Linked DNA regions of Homo sapiens: region 2 is linked to region 1. Evidence: promoter capture Hi-C in human tissues and cell types (Jung and others, 2019). All regions are on one chromosome and are shown on one strand. Each heading gives the region's core, a stretch centred on a gene start or on the middle of the fragment in contact. The rest is flanking DNA. Distances are from core to core; before and after follow the strand shown.

Region 1 (4,951 bases), core at 2,370-4,869:
TTTTTCCCTCCTTTACTTTTTCTTCTTAGATTCCTAAATCTTTTTCTTTGAATTTAAATAGTTTAAGATATCGTAGTGCTTCCGTATTCCCACATGACATTTTCTGGAACATGGCATGTTCCTTTGGCCTACAGACCATTTTTTCTTCATCTCAATAAGCTTTCTTTGGACTTATTTTTATTTGAATTTTCTGTCCCATTTGTTGACTTCTCTACATCTGGGACTTCAGTGGTCCCAATTCTTGATTGTATTTTGTCTTTCATAATAGCTTCTTTCTTCTTAATCTTTGTCCCTTTTCAGTTGAATTTACTGGGCTTCCTTACTGGGCTTTCTTCTATTAAAATACTTTTATTTTCAGCAGTATTGCTTCTGTTCTTTCTCCTGACTTATTTATTCTGTCACTATGTTTTTACGGTCTTCAATTTTCCTTTAGGTCTGCAATCTCCCTTTTCATCTCCAGTTTACAATTTTCTCATCTTTGAGTTTGTTTTATTGGATTTATATTTTTATCAAGTTGTTGCACAGTGTAAGGCAATGGTAATGAATTTCTTCTGTTCCAAGTGTAATTCTTTGTTTTTAGTAAGACGTCTTGCAATCCACGTTGTTCTTTCCTTTCCTATTTTTCCCCCTTACCATTTCTGTTCACTTTGCTGCTACTAGTTTGGCTTTAGTACCTCCTACTGATATGGCAGAGTGAAACCTCGACTTCCTTTCCACAACTTTATCTGATTCCAGCTTGTTCTGTAAAGCCTGGGCAATTTCTCTAGCCCAGAAGGTTGGTGCCCAGTGAACCTTCCCCCATCTCACTCACCTTCACCCAGCATAAAGGGCCCACTGTTCCTTTGTGAGAAAAGAAAAAAGCAAAGTATGTTGTGATTCAGTTTCCTCTTTTTTTTTTTTTTAACAAGGACTGGATCAGTCTCCTTCTTTCCTATTTATTACAGAGAAATCTCACTATAGTTTCTGGTGGTTGAGACACATTTAAATTTTAAATTTTTTTTTAAACTTGAGAATTAAAAACAAACAAATGAAAACCAATGACAATGCTGATGGATATCTCCACGTACCAGATGATAAAACCCTGGCTTGTGGGGTAACTCGTTTTCCTGTTAGGGCCAGAGAAAATTTTCAGTGGCTCTGAACTCCTCCCCATCATACATACCTCTCTTTTTCCCTCCTTTGTTTTGTCTTTTCCATACCTCTAAGTCAGCCAACCTCCTCTGCCAATTACCTGTTTTTCCTTTATTCTTCCCTGAATTGCATAGCCCCCAGTTTCATTCTTCCAAAGGAAGAAGAAGGACCCTCAGGGCCAGTGCCGTCAAGCTCTGCTCTAACTCACTAATATTTCACAAATTATAAAATGCCCATTTTCTTTTAACATTTGAGAATTTCTGAAATCAGAATGCTTTCATTCTGGTGGCATGGCATAGCATGATTGACAGTGTTTTTTCTTACTTCATTACATAAAATGAAAGTGCATCTTATAAGCAATGGCATTTTAGTTTGGGTTTTAGCTTTGATAAAACATGATGATTGAGCCTGTAATACTAGCACTTTGGGAGTCCAAAGCAGGTGGATCATTTGAGGTCAGAAGTTCCAGACCAGGCTGGGTAACATAGTGGAAATCCCATCTCTACTAAAAATACAATTAGCCAGGCGTAGTAGCACACGCCTGTAATCTCAGCTACTCAAGAGGCTGAGGCAGAAGAATCGCTTGAACCCAGGAGGGGGAGGTTGCAGTGAGCCAAGACAGTGCCACTGCACTCCAGCCTGCGCGACAGAGCGAGACTTTGTCAAAAACCAAACCAAACCAAACCAAACCAAACAAAACAAAACATGATGATTGATAACGGAAGATGATACATACCATTGACTCTTGAACAGTTTGAAGGTTTATAAAGGTAGCAGAAAAAATGAGTCCAATGTGGCTTTGAGTGTGCAAGTGTGAGCCATGGAATATATATTTTAATAAATGTTTCACGTCTATGACAGTACCTCTAGGGTTATGATCCTTTTCATACTACTTTTTGAAATGACTTTTAGACAAATCACCATTGTCAAATTATGTGAACCAAAATCAGATTTTCTTTAACTTTTCAATAAATACATGAGAAACTTTAGAGGAAATAATAGGTAAGAAAAATGAGTCATGTACATTTTTGATTATCTAAAATTGTGGAAAACAACTTTATGAACAATAGAACTTACAAGTTCAAGTCATTTTCTGCGACAAACAGATCAAGCCTTATCAGCTATGCCCTAATTGCTAGGAGTGTTTATCGAATATTTTCCTTAGGGTAGATTTTGATAGAGTATCTGCTACCCCCTCACCCCCTCAAGCCTGCACAGGTGGATAGGGGGTGGGTGGACAGGATACTGAGAAACCTTGGCAAGCAGTGGGACTTAGCCCCTGGGCCAGTGAGCACACATGGGAAACTCCACCTCTCCCTGAGCCAGCTCCGGCACTTCTCACCACTGAATCAACGCCCAAGCATGCTATATTCGTTTCTAAGACTTCTTGCTAAACAAAACAAGGAAATAAAAAAAAAAATGTTAAAAGAAAGGAGGTGGGAATACTCAGAGTCAATATAACCATCGCTAACCAAATAAACGGGCTGATGGAGTCAACTCGCTACTGCGTGTAACGGATTGATTTGCTCAGGGTTGAAATGCAAGTGCCGATCGCCTCTCCATATTCGCGGAGTATCTTCCCAGTATCTCCCCTCTCCGACCCTGGGAGGGTGCACCCTTCTGTCTCCGCGGCCACGTCCCCTCGCCCCTTCCCCCTCCTGCCTCCACGCAGCGGATCCGGAGGGGTGTAGGCCGCTCCAGCCCCGGCTGCAGTCTGTGACCCTGACGCAGGTCGAGGGGGGCTAATCCCAGGGGACCTCAAGGGGGCGGGCTGGAGATCCCGAACCTGAGCACCCAGCTGGTGAGCCGGTTTTGCAAGGCGGGGTGGACCTGGAGGAATGTGACCCTCAAACTTAGCAACGACTCACATCTTGCAGTGGCAAATGCCCGGTATCCTGGGCATCCTTGGTGGGGTGGGGTGGGACGCGGAGGGGTGCAACGAAAGCGGACTCCCAGCAGGGGCGACGCGTGGAGGGCGCAGGACAGGGCCCGGGAGGGGTCCTGGGGTCGCAGGTGCGGCCCCGGGAGAGAGGAAGGGCGCACTAGCCGCATACTCAAGACGCAGAGGGAGGGCAGGAGGAGGAGGAGGAGTCGGGGAGAGCGAGAGGGAACCGGAGGGGATTCCGGGAACCGCTGCAGGGAGGCGGCGTTTTCCCTCCAGTCAGCTGGCCACGCGCTCCGCTCCCGCGACCCCGCCACGCTGCGTTACCTTTGCAGCTCTCGCCTTGCGGCTCCCGAGAGATGCTAGCCTCGGGCCCCAGCCGCGCCCGGCTCTGGGACCCGACGCTCGCGGTCAGGATGCGCCTCGCGGGCGGCCTCTCGGACAGAAGCGGCGGGCGGGGGACAAAAGCGGCCCGTGCGGCCGGGTGGTGGTCCGCGGGCTGCGCTCGGGGAACTGTTCGGCTCGCCGGCGGGATTCCTACCCGCCGGGAAGAAGCGTCTTTAGTGCGGGTGCGCGCGCCGAGCCCCGGCCTACGAGGAGCGATACGGAAGCGCGGGCGCCGCGCCGCCGCCGGCGCGGGGGCGGGGGCGGAGCCAGGGGCGGGGCCGGAGCCAGGGGCGGGTCCTGGGCCGCTGGCGGGGCTGGAGCAGGGCCGGAGGCGGAGGCCGGGCCGGGGGCTGGGCAGGAGAATAGAAAAAAGGTCCGGTCATTTACAATCGTCTGCTGCCGATTGTCAGCTCCTAACCAATCCCGCCTTCGCCGAGAAAGCTCCATAGGGGAAGAATTTGGGACTGTTTTGTTTACTGAAGTATCCTTAGGGGTTAGAATAGTGCCTGGCATTTAGAAGACACCCAAAGATGTGTTGACTGACTGAATGAATGAATGAACTAAAGAGTGAATGGGTTCTCTCCTGGCTCCCCCACTTGTTAATTGTATAAACCTGCATGATATAATTCTCCAACTAGTAAAACGAGGATAAAAATACCTACCATTGAGTAAATGTTGTAAATATCTACAACATTATCCGTTGTAGATTCTCCCCTCTTCTCCGCGGGTCTCTTCTCCATACTCCTACCCTTCCCTCGACCCCCCACTGATCAACGTGTTTCGGGATAGGCAGAAAGACAGATGTTCTTCATTAATTTGTCTGCTTGTTATTTATAGCCTGTCAACTTCTAAAATAGACTATGAGGCCGGGAGCGGTGGCTCACACCTGTTATCTCAGCACTTTGGGAGGCCAAGGCAGATGGACCATCTGAGGTCAGGACTTCAAGACCCAGCCTGACCAACATGGTGAAACCCTGTCTGTACTAAAAATACAAAAATTAGCTGGGCGTGGTGGCGGGCGCCTGTAATCCCAGTTACTTGGGAGCCTGAGGCAGGAGAATTGCTTGAACCTGGGAGGTGGAGGTTGCAGTGAGTTGAGATTGCACCATTGCACTCCAGCCTGGGAGACAAGAGCGAAACTCTGTCTCAAGAAAAACGAAAAAAAAAAGAAAATCCAAAACCAAAATAGACTATGAGGCAGCTTTCAAGTAAAATGTATGTATATTCTAAACATTACAGCTACTAAAATGGAAATGTTAATATCTTTTTGAAGGAGAGGGAAAAGATACACTAACCACCTAAATTGTTTTAACTGAGTATTTAATCTCTCGTTCAGCTTTCTGGCCTCCTAGGAAAGGGAGGAGGAGGATGTTTCATACTTTTTGTAGATGGGAAAAATGAGCCTTTTAATCTATGAAGTCAACCAACATTTGCTGATACTCCTTTAAGGCTAGGCACAAGGGTGATCATAAAGAGGATGTCACGGTCCTGCCTCTTATGTGACCCTTGGCAGAATTCCCACCAGCCCCATACGATCTGAAGGGAACTTAT
Region 2 (4,583 bases), core at 899-3,398, 160 kb after region 1:
ATCTGTAAAATGGGGATAACGCTGGTGCCTACAAAATGAAAGCATGCATGTAAAATGCTTACAACCCTGCTTGGTGCCCGATAACACAATGAGCTCTTATCAGCACCATTGTTATTTTTATTTCTGGTAGTAATGCTCTGCCATTTCTGCAGAGTAGCTTCTCCTTCCCACCTGCCTGCCCCCAGGTGAGTTGGCTTTTCTTTTTTCTTTCTTTTTAACCTCACAGACAAGTCTTCTCATCTGCTCTTGTGATTTTGAAGTCTCCAGGTCCTATGACTTTGGCATTCTCTAAGGAGCTACCCACATCACTTAGAAGCTTCTGGGACACAACAGCCCTTATTGAATCCCAGTGCTGGGAGCCTGTTTCCTGGGCCCCATGGCTTGCCTTGGACTGGTGCTCCAGGTACAGGGCCTGTCAGGGGCGTCTGTCCTCTATTTCAGGCCACCACTGCAGAGGGGCCTGTTGGGGAATCACTCGTGTCCATGAAAAACACTCAACAAAAAGATGCCGACGACGTTGACACAGGTTCCAGCAGGGTCAGAATGTCTAGTTTCCACATGAAAACACTGTGAGGCAGCCAGGAGGAGAAAGTCTCTGAAGCTGTGCCTTCAGAAGCCGTTTTCTCCTTGCACCCTGCTGCCCTTGTCTGTCAGCCGTCTGCTTGCTCACTTTCAGAAACTCGAATGACAAACCTGCAACCGTCAGAGGATCTCTCACAGAGGTGGCCTTGCCTCTGCCACTCCCTGTCACCAGTCTGGGCCTCTCTTGGGGCTAGGGGGCGAGGCTGCCGAGAAAGTTCAGGTGACTCAACTGCAGTCAGGTCAGCCAGCAAGGGATTTGTCCTGAGCCTATCTCTCCTGGATGCCACCAGCAGGGCCAGCCTACAGGCTGAGCAGAGAGGCTGGAAGAGACCAGAGGACCGAGATTTTCCAGGGGAGGGCAGAAGAACATGCTCAGCTCTGGGTGGGGACCTCCTGTTGGGATTCCCATTCCTTGTCTCACCAGGACAGACCAAGGAAGCAGCCCGTGCTTCCCCAAAGCAGGCGCTAGTCCCTGGCATTACTGCCTCTGACCACCTGTGTGGCTTTGACTGTGGTTCCCGACCATCCTGGGCCTCGGTTGCCTTATTCAGTAGGGAGAAGAGAGAATGGATGATTTGCAACTGCCTTTGCCTGCCAGCATTCATGAGACTCAGATATGATTTGGTACCTGCGGCCTTTGTCCCAGGTAGTGGCCTACTTGCGTGCTCTGTCCTCGGTGGTCACCGCAGAAGGCTTAGCATGGACGTAGAATGCATTCTTTTTGCTTTCAATCAAGGCATTCCCCCCCCACCCCCACCCCCCCACACACACAAAAGCGTCATGCAGCCTGTAGTGTTTAAGGACTTGGAATATTCAGCTCCTTGTCCTGAGCTCAGAGCCTGGCCTGTCAACAGCAGCAGGAGGGAAGGGGGAGAGTTTGCGGAGAGCTCCTAATCCCGTGTGAGCAGAAAGAATGTGGTTTGGTTTCTTTTCAGGCATGTCAGCTTTTACGCTGGGCTTAGTTAAAAATGACAGAATGGGAACTGCCTTAAGAATGATTTTCCGATGTCTCCATAAATAACGAGACTAGTTTGTGTGCAGGTTTTGAGGAATATCTTGCTACTCCAGTTTTGCACGTTAACTGGATCTTACTTGGAAACAGTATTTCTAACGTCTTTCCCCACACCTAAAAATCTGCTGGAGAAAAGTGAATTCATGTTTTTGAAAAACATGGCATTTTTCACCCCATTGCTTTGTGAGCCTACTTCAGTGAATGTGGTAATCTTCTTATTGAATATTTATTGTGTGTGCAGAAGAGAAAAGAGGCAGTGAAGAAGCAGGAAAATACCTTCTGAGGGAAATATACTTTCCTAGTCAATGCACTGCATACCCAGGGAGCAAAAGTGTCAATTGAATGACTCTTCCCAACCATCACCTTGCTCTTGGCAAGTTCATCAGGTATCCTTCTATGGCAGAAAAGAAAAGCCCCTTTTTTTCCTGGCTGGCTTCCTAAACACAACAGGAGGCTCCAGGGGGTCTAGTTAGCAGGCTGAGGCTCTCTTGTACCCAGCCTCACCTGCGTACCTAAGCATTCAGGAAAGACCAAACACCTTAAAGTGGAGTGCAAGATGGAAGCATTGTCGTTCATCTTCTAAACTTCAGTAAGTGGAAACATTTTCCATGATTGGAGAGGAGCCTCTTCCTCGAAGCAGCCACTTACCCTCTAAGCTGTATATTTCACAAAGTTAAATTTTTATGTCTAGTGTCATCAGTTTCCCTTAGAGGAGAACATCTGTAAGTAGACCATCACTGCGGGCTAGGCAAATCCCATCGTGTATTGATTCTGCCCTCTGTCTACTGATTGCTCACCTGGACTCCAATATATATAACAATATAATTTCTCAGGGCCTTGTGTATTTTCCCATTAGGTTCAGTTTACTCTAATTGCCAGGACCTCACTTTGGTGGTTGGCTGGATGCAGGGAACTTTTTTGGCAGTGAGCCGTGGGTTCCTTCTCATCTTGCTTCTGAGCTCTTAGAGTGCCTTTCTTGAGGAACCTTACTAAGACCCTCCCAGCTGTCCCAAACCCTTCAAAGGCTAGCTTACACTTGTTCCTTCTGAACAAAGCCCACTCCAGCTAAAATCAAGTATGGTGGACAATTCAGCTAGCTCCTTTGCTGGCGTGACATAGCACTGAACATTTCTAAAAGCAGCTCCATGCTCTAGAACACACATGTCTAAGCTTAAACTCTGCATGCAGAATACACTGCCCTGCCATAGACAGATGTTGAGCAGTCTGACTTTGCATTGTGGACACTGTATATAATTACCTTTTATCTGTTTCATCCTACAGGACTCTTCAATGCTTGCTGGTACTATTTTTTAGGATGTAAACTCCTTCTATAGAGCAAGTCTGCTAATCTTGCTTGGCACAACGGCCAAAAGCACGCTACGTGCAGGCAGATAAGTATTTTGATGGCACCCAAAACAGCCCCGTGTGTCCTTGTTAAATTTATTTATAGCCTTTGGCCCTTCTGAAAAGCATGATAGGCTGTGATTTTCTTAGTTAAATAAAAAAAAAATCATACACATATAGTGTTACTTTTCCTATAAGGCATGGGCGGCTTGTTCCCATTTACAGGTAGAGAAGGGCAGACCCATTTTCTGCCCTGTAGCTTTGGGCTCCTTTTAGAGATGATGTCTGGAATGACAGTGGCATCTAGGTGCTGGTGTTGGACAGTGGGAGAAATTGTTTGTTTCTAATCCCTTAGAAGTATTTTTGTTTCAAGGAGAACCTAATTTGCTTTTGATTTCATTGATTTTCACTTTTTTCCCCTACCCCTTGCCAAGATATAAGGTAAGCAAGGAAAGGCATTGAATAAACAGAAGGCCAGAGTTCAAATCTACTTTTTATAAAAGTGGTGACTTTGCTGGTGGCAGAGTCTAGGAAGCATGAGAAATCCTCTTTTGGAATGAGTTGGTGCACAGAGCACCTTCTCCCATGCCCTGTCCTGACTTCTCCTTAAGGAAATAGACACAGCATGGTAGCCGGGCAATGCCATCTCTCCAGCCACCTCCCACCTCCTTCCCCCACCTCCAAAGTGGTGCTCATTTTCTCTAAATGTGTATATGCCTCAGATAAACCAACATGGATAAAATTGAGTAAGTCATCTCTGGGTTTTCTTTAATTTTCCTCAGGTTAAAGGGGACACTACTTCTCTACTACTCCCCTACATTAAACAGTGGTTGGGTTTCATTAATAATTATGCAGTGTTTCATTATTGCAATGTGAGCAGGTCAGCCTTCCAAATTCTTTTTAAGAGCACCAAACAGACAGAAGAGCTTTCTTCACCTCTTAGGTGAAGACAATTCCAACCTGATTTAAATGATAAGGGGTAGGTGGGTGCAGCAGCGGGAAGCTCATGCTTGTGTGGTATTAAGCTTCTGTCCAAGGATATAGAAAAGGTGGATATCCTGGAAGGATGTTGAGCTACAATTTTATGATAAAGGTATTGCTTAACCCATTTTCCAGGGGATGAAGTTGTAGTTAAAAAAGACCTATGCCTGAAGCTTGGCAAAGAATGAATTCCTGGAATTGCCTCTCTCCCTTCTCTATCCCATTCTCTATCCCACCCACCCACTTACCTATAATCCTCATATTTCCCACGAATGCCTGAACTTGAACTACAGTTGCCTGTTCATTGGATTATTTTACAAATCAGGAAGTCACATTTTAAAACCTGGGACCCCGGTCATTTACCTACCTTCACCCCAAGGTTCTAAATCCACTAGGATACAAGGACTTTTTTATTACCAAACAAATCAGACAAAAAATGTAAAAAATCAGACTTTAAATGTTTTATTTTGTTGATTCTGTACACCGTCAGGAAACAAGGTTAGAAGTAAAATAAAGTGCCAGTTAAATTCGGCTACTACCAACAACCAAAACCTTAAACATAGAAAATCAAAGTAAACTGCGGAAAGGTCATAGCATAACCTTGGGTAAAGGAATTTGTTAACGTCTGTAACAAATCGAAACTGACTACGTATGTAGCTCTTCA

The links. The method cuts DNA at HindIII sites, captures the fragments that hold promoters and counts their contacts. A contact is called where the count stands out against the background at its distance.
Region 2: a contact is called between a fragment that was not itself captured here and the fragment with the promoter of IFNAR2 in region 1, in 1 of the 25 tissues and cell types used here (H1 embryonic stem cells).

What each region holds. Positions count from the first base shown.
Region 1 is chr21:33,228,606-33,233,556 of GRCh38, reverse strand. It overlaps IFNAR2 (interferon alpha and beta receptor subunit 2), which reads right to left and starts at 3,619. Exons shown (of 9, transcript NM_001289125.3): 1 at 3,341-3,619. It overlaps IFNAR2-IL10RB (IFNAR2-IL10RB readthrough), which reads right to left and starts at 3,619. Exons shown (of 13, transcript NM_001414505.1): 1 at 3,341-3,619. RefSeq lists silencers at 1,741-1,930, 3,153-3,202, 3,223-3,282, 3,343-3,802. The HindIII fragment of the contact is 14,450 bases long and covers 1-4,951 here.
Region 2 is chr21:33,072,196-33,076,778 of GRCh38, reverse strand. OLIG1 (oligodendrocyte transcription factor 1) reads right to left here. Exons shown (of 1, transcript NM_138983.3): 1 at 4,366-4,583. Among named protein-coding and RNA genes, the nearest start is that of OLIG1, 4.3 kb to the right of the region's middle. The HindIII fragment of the contact is 4,648 bases long and covers 1-4,472 here.